Linked DNA regions of Homo sapiens: region 1 is linked to region 2. Evidence: promoter capture Hi-C in 16 types of primary human blood cells and fetal thymus (Javierre and others, 2016). All regions are on one chromosome and are shown on one strand. Each heading gives the region's core, a stretch centred on a gene start or on the middle of the fragment in contact. The rest is flanking DNA. Distances are from core to core; before and after follow the strand shown.

What was found. The method cuts DNA at HindIII sites, captures the fragments that hold promoters and counts their contacts. A CHiCAGO score of 5 or more calls a contact.
Region 1: a fragment that was not itself captured here is called in contact with the fragment with the promoter of GPR149 in region 2 in 1 of 17 cell types (M1 macrophages); the score reaches 5.1 in M1 macrophages.

Annotation. Positions count from the first base shown.
Region 1 is chr3:155,637,207-155,640,022 of GRCh38, reverse strand. All of the region lies in intron 2 of PLCH1 (phospholipase C eta 1), which reads left to right. Among named protein-coding and RNA genes, the nearest start is that of PLCH1, 110 kb to the left of the region's middle. The HindIII fragment of the contact is 1,134 bases long and covers 868-2,001 here.
Region 2 is chr3:154,428,738-154,431,574 of GRCh38, reverse strand. GPR149 (G protein-coupled receptor 149) reads left to right here and starts at 1,385. Exons shown (of 4, transcript NM_001038705.3): 1 at 1,385-2,837. The coding sequence starts at 1,960. The HindIII fragment of the contact is 3,253 bases long and covers 1,199-2,837 here.

The DNA of each region.
Region 1 (2,816 bases), core at 185-2,684, 1.2 Mb before region 2:
CAGAAAGCATGGCTGAGGAGGCCTCAGAAAGCTTACAATCACGACAGAAGGCAAAGAAGAAGGAAGCATGTCTTACATGGCTGGAGCAGGAGGAAGAAAGAGAAGCTGGAGGTACCACACATATTTAAACAACCAGATCTCGTGAGAACTCACTCACTATCCTGAGAACAGCAGGGGGGGATATCCACCCCCATGACTCAGTCACCTCCCACCAGGCCCCTCCTCCAACACTAGGGATTATAATTTGACATGAGATTTAGTCAGGGACACAAATGCAAACCATATCAAGGTTCTATTTCCAGTTCCCGGGAAAGTGAATCTGATGGGCTAGAGTAAGATAGGCTCTCCTGAGCCTGGGAGATGGCCACAGGCATAGTACTGGCTGTGAAAGCAGACTGCCAGAAGAAAACACAGTCAACCTTTTGTTGCTCCCCTTAGCCCACTCCTTCCCTTTTCATTTTCCAATGACTATAACATCAGATGTCTTCATATAGGCTTGGAGTTTGGTCTTTGGTACCGAGGACTGTGATTGCCATATACATTGCTTATTTATTTATTTTTTGAGACAGGGTTTTGCTCTGTAGCCCAGCCTGGAATGCAGTTACATGAACGTGCCCCACTGCAGCCTTAACCTCCTGGGCTCAAGTGATCCTCCTGCCTAAGCCTCCTCTGCAGCTGGGACCATAGGCTTGCACCACCACTCCAGGCTAAGTATTTTTTATTTTTTGTGGAGACAAGGTTTCACCATTTTTCCCAGGCTGGTCTCGAACTCCTGGGCTCAAGTGATCTTCCCGCGTTGGCCTCCCAAAGTGCTGACATTACCGGTGTGAGCACCACCCCTGGCCCCTGGTTTATTTATGGGAAGCTTAAGGCAGCCAAGAACCTATCTTTCCAACAAGGTGGTATATCTTGTCAATTTTTTTCATTTACTCATTTATTTAACCGATATTTACTAGTTATCTACACTGTTTAAGGTGCTGTAATATAGAGATGCATGGAATATAATATAATTATATATAGTATAAAGTCCAGTTTACTTTTTGGGGGAAACTGTTATATATTTAAGCTACATTTGCTTGCTTGTCCAGGGTTATAATCCTTTATTCATTAATATTTTCCCCCAGATCTTGTTCCAATATTATGGCAGGCAGTCAAACCCTTTAATCATTTGCCTGTAAAGATGTCTCTGATTTATTCAGAAGGTTTACTCATTCTAGTTAGGAGTAACTAGGAGAATAGACATGTTAGAAAAATAGAAATCTAACAGCAATGTTGCATGACATTATGAGTTTGACATTAATTAAATAACAAGAGAGTTTGTATTATCTGGGAAGCTGGAGGCTCTAAGATTATAAACATGGCAGCTTGCCCAAATCATTTCTAGAGTTGGAAGTAGCTTGAAGTTCAAGACTTCACAAATAAACATTCACATGCAAAGAGAAAAATCAGAAAAATCATAGCCTAAATCCAAAATGAAGTCACAGCTGGCTGCTTTGGAAAAAAGAAGGATGAGCTTTGTTGGCAAAGTCAGCTCTTCTGCATGTTTAAAGTCTATGTAGCAGAGTCTAAAAGAAAGCAAACCAAATTTCGATTCTCTCTTATAGCAGGCTTAAATTTAGCTCTTTGTGGAAACTGGTGGGGAACATGTACATGGTTAAAGGTATATGGTGTTATGTTTTTAAAGTTCAATGATGATAACTGTTGAAGGGGTTATATCACTAGAGTATTTATTGGGGTGATAGTGGGTAGTAGAATAGTGGGAGACCCCTCCAAAGAGACCATTAGGTAAACCAATTTGTTGAATATTTGAAATCATATTCTCTTGTAGTGAGGAAGAAAGCATACTTGAACTTGCATTCTTACAACTGAACACTTAAAAACATCATTTGGAAAGCTGTGCCATGATAACCATTGTGAAATAAATAAGGGGAAGAAAGCATAATCCACCAACAAATGCCATCAGTAGATGTGCCAAAGCTGAGTGATGTTTATCATCAAGCTTTGATTTGACGGTAAACATGTGCAGATCGTGTGCAAACTGTCTTCCTAACTGTTGAACCCCTTGCTTCCTTTGTGCACTGGCTAGTGCACCCAGGGATGTCAGGTGACTTTTTCATAAGAAGATGGTAGGTTAATTCCATAAAAGCGCAATTCAAGAGCCCACTTTGAATACATTTTGAGGTGGAATGTTGTCTTTGCAGTTGGTGATTTGAAAGGTTACTTTAAATCCACTGAGTAAACATACTAAAGTAGGTGAGAGGTTCTTTCTTGGGTTTTGGGAAAGTGTTATTGATGTATGATAATTGTGGCTAAGGTCATTTCCTAATCTTCAATATTAACTACAAGTTTGTCCTGTCCTCTGTAGAGAAGTATAAGAATTAATTTGCTGTCTGAGGAAATAAAAATGATAAGGGACTACTCACAAAACGCATTTTCCATAGCAAAAGGGCAAAAGTGCTAATTGAATGTAGGTAATATTTTCCCACTTCGAGGAAAAAATAATATGAACTTTGAATCGATTCCTTATCTACAGATATGGATCCTTATCTACATGGCATTTTATTTTGCTCATCCTTAGGACTTTTCTCATCTTTTATTAGGACAGGACCTACCATGTTTTTCTAATAATGCTGGCCTGGCCAAAGTCATATAGAACTTTCGAATTCCTTTTTACTTGATGTTGTGCCCAGGGGCTGGCCAAAGTTAAGGGTTTAGCCTCTTCTGGCACTGAGTAGTCCACAGGGAAATGGACCTCTGACTGAGGGCTCATTAATTTATCCTAGTCAGTTTTATTTTTTAATATAATTTCTGCATCC
Region 2 (2,837 bases), core at 136-2,635:
ATTAATTTCTATTCATTGTATATTAACAATCTGAGACTTATTGTCCAACCTAACTGAAAATGCAGGATTCAATACGATATTGAAGAATAATATTTTTGCTATGGCAAGGAAGAATAAGGTTTGTGAGAAGAGACAGAATGGCATGTCATGGAACTTTGAAGTCTTCAAAAATAAGATTTGTTTTTCATCATACTTTCTGAATCAACATTATTTTAAAATGAATATACCCTCAACCTTTCCTACTCACACAGCCCTACACAGTCTATACTATCAGTAGGGAGAGCTAGAGTGCTGAGCTAGCTGTTACATGTGTTTTTTGTTTCCATTTGCTGAGTAAGGGGGAAAATCAAACAATCAACATATCAAGATAAGTGAAATACCTGCTGTGTTTATTGAAGGGTGTGGCTGGTAATGACTAATGCAACCATTTTCTACTTGAACAGATTCGGGTTCAAAATGATACTTCAGTTATTTCTAAAATGAAAAGAATGATCGCAGTTCTATTACTACTTCCAGTTATTAAATCATTATCAATATCAACTATTTCCTTTCCCTTCCCCTGTTTCCATTTAAACCTCCAGCACTATGTGGGAGAATGCAGCCATCTGGTCATGAGGCTAAGCTGAGAAGAATGCTGCCCTAAAGCATCCTGGGAAATGCTGGACCAGAAGTACTTCTGTTAGATACTTCTTTGCTAAATCACGCATCTTGCAAAATTGACCATTAAGAGATACAACTATTGTATGTCCCAAATACTCTGGTTAAAAATGTAGGGTGATCTTCCTTTTAGGCCCTATGTAATATCTTCCGACTTTATGGATACTTAGACATATAATTTATTCGAATGACAGCCTGCTTACTTGATACCATTGACAGAAAATAGTTATAAATAAATGTCTAAAGCTAGTGTGACTCTATCCAAAGATTCTGTATAATCCCGTTTAGAGTAATGAGGACTATAACGACAATCTTAAGTACACTATTTTTTTAAAAGAAATCTGATACATCTGACTCTTATGCATGGGATTGATGATATTCTTCCTCCAATGGATTATGAAGCAGAAAGTCTAGGTAAGAATAAAAGCAGTCCCTTAGTTACTGGAGTAGCTTAGACCTCTCACAGGTTATATTTGTAGTTCACATCAAGCCTGAGCAAGTATTTGGACTAATTTTACATGTTGAAACCAAAGGGGAAGCTTAGCAAGTACACCGTTTCTTGCTTTGAAAGAGTCAGTCTAAGATATACGTATATCATTTTGTTCACACACTGAACTCCCCTCCCTTTTTTTCCTGCTTCTCTCCTGCTTGGAGCTGACTCCTCCTTCCTGCAGCTCCGAGGATCACAGGCTGATTGAAGAACACAGCGGTTCAGATGGGATTCTGTGCACAAGCTCCCTCTGACTGGCTCGCGCTCGCCCTCTCTCTCTCTCTCTCTGTCTCTCTCTCTCTCTCCACCTTCAAAGCTGAAACCTACCTGACAATCTCCTGCCTTTGAATCCAGCTCTGGAACCAAATGCATCATTTTACTGCTCTTAAAAGTGAACAGAGTTTGATTATCTCAAGCTACAAGCTGCTTTGCTCCATAAGAAGGACCCCAAAGGATCCAGACATCATTGGTTTTTAATGTACCTGAAGAGTTTTGTTTTGTTTATTTTTTTGGCTTTCTTCCCTGAAACTTGATGGTGGGAAGGAGTTTTTGCTTTGTTTTTAATTGGAATGTTGAAAAGTTATCTGTTCGGGTTTTTTTTTTTTTATGCTTGAAATGGAACCTAATTTTTAAATATAGCTTGAGTCAGATCTAAAGGAGACATGGCTGACCATTTTCTGCAGGACTGACAAGGAGAACATCTAGAGGGGAACTTGGTAGGAGGAATGAAATCTGATTTGCAGCAGCCGGTCTTTCTTTTGAGAAAATTATCAGACTCATTGATAAGGGAAATTAAATATTGACCAAGGACAATGTCTTTATTTCTCAGTAACTTATCAACAAATGACTCTAGCCTGTGGAAAGAGAATCATAATTCTACGGACCTTTTAAATCCGCCAGGAACCCTGAATATCTATCTTTTTTGCTTGACATGTCTCATGACTTTTGCAGCCTTGGTGGGCAGCATTTATTCACTAATTTCCCTGCTGAAAATGCAGAACAGAACTGTTGTGTCCATGCTTGTGGCTTCCTGGTCTGTGGATGATCTCATGAGCGTCCTGTCGGTGACCATCTTCATGTTTTTGCAGTGGCCAAACGAGGTCCCCGGTTACTTCCAATTTCTGTGCACCACCTCTGCCTTAATGTATTTATGCCAGGGCCTCTCTAGCAACTTGAAGGCGACTCTCCTAGTCTCTTACAACTTTTATACGATGCACAGAGGTGTGGGGAGCCAGACAGCCTCCAGAAGATCGGGCCAGGTGCTCGGCGTGGTGCTGACCGTGTGGGCAGCCAGTCTGCTGCTCTCGGCGCTCCCGCTGTGCGGCTGGGGCGCCTTCGTGCGCACGCCCTGGGGCTGCCTGGTGGACTGCTCCAGCTCCTACGTACTATTCCTCTCTATCGTGTACGCTTTGGCCTTCGGACTCCTCGTGGGCCTCTCAGTCCCACTCACTCACCGATTGCTGTGTTCGGAGGAGCCGCCGAGACTCCACTCCAACTACCAGGAAATTTCCCGTGGAGCTTCAATTCCTGGGACCCCTCCTACTGCGGGGAGAGTGGTTTCCCTGTCCCCAGAGGATGCTCCAGGCCCGAGTCTGCGGCGCTCTGGGGGATGCTCTCCGAGCTCCGACACCGTGTTCGGACCGGGTGCGCCCGCTGCCGCTGGGGCTGAAGCCTGCAGGCGTGAGAACCG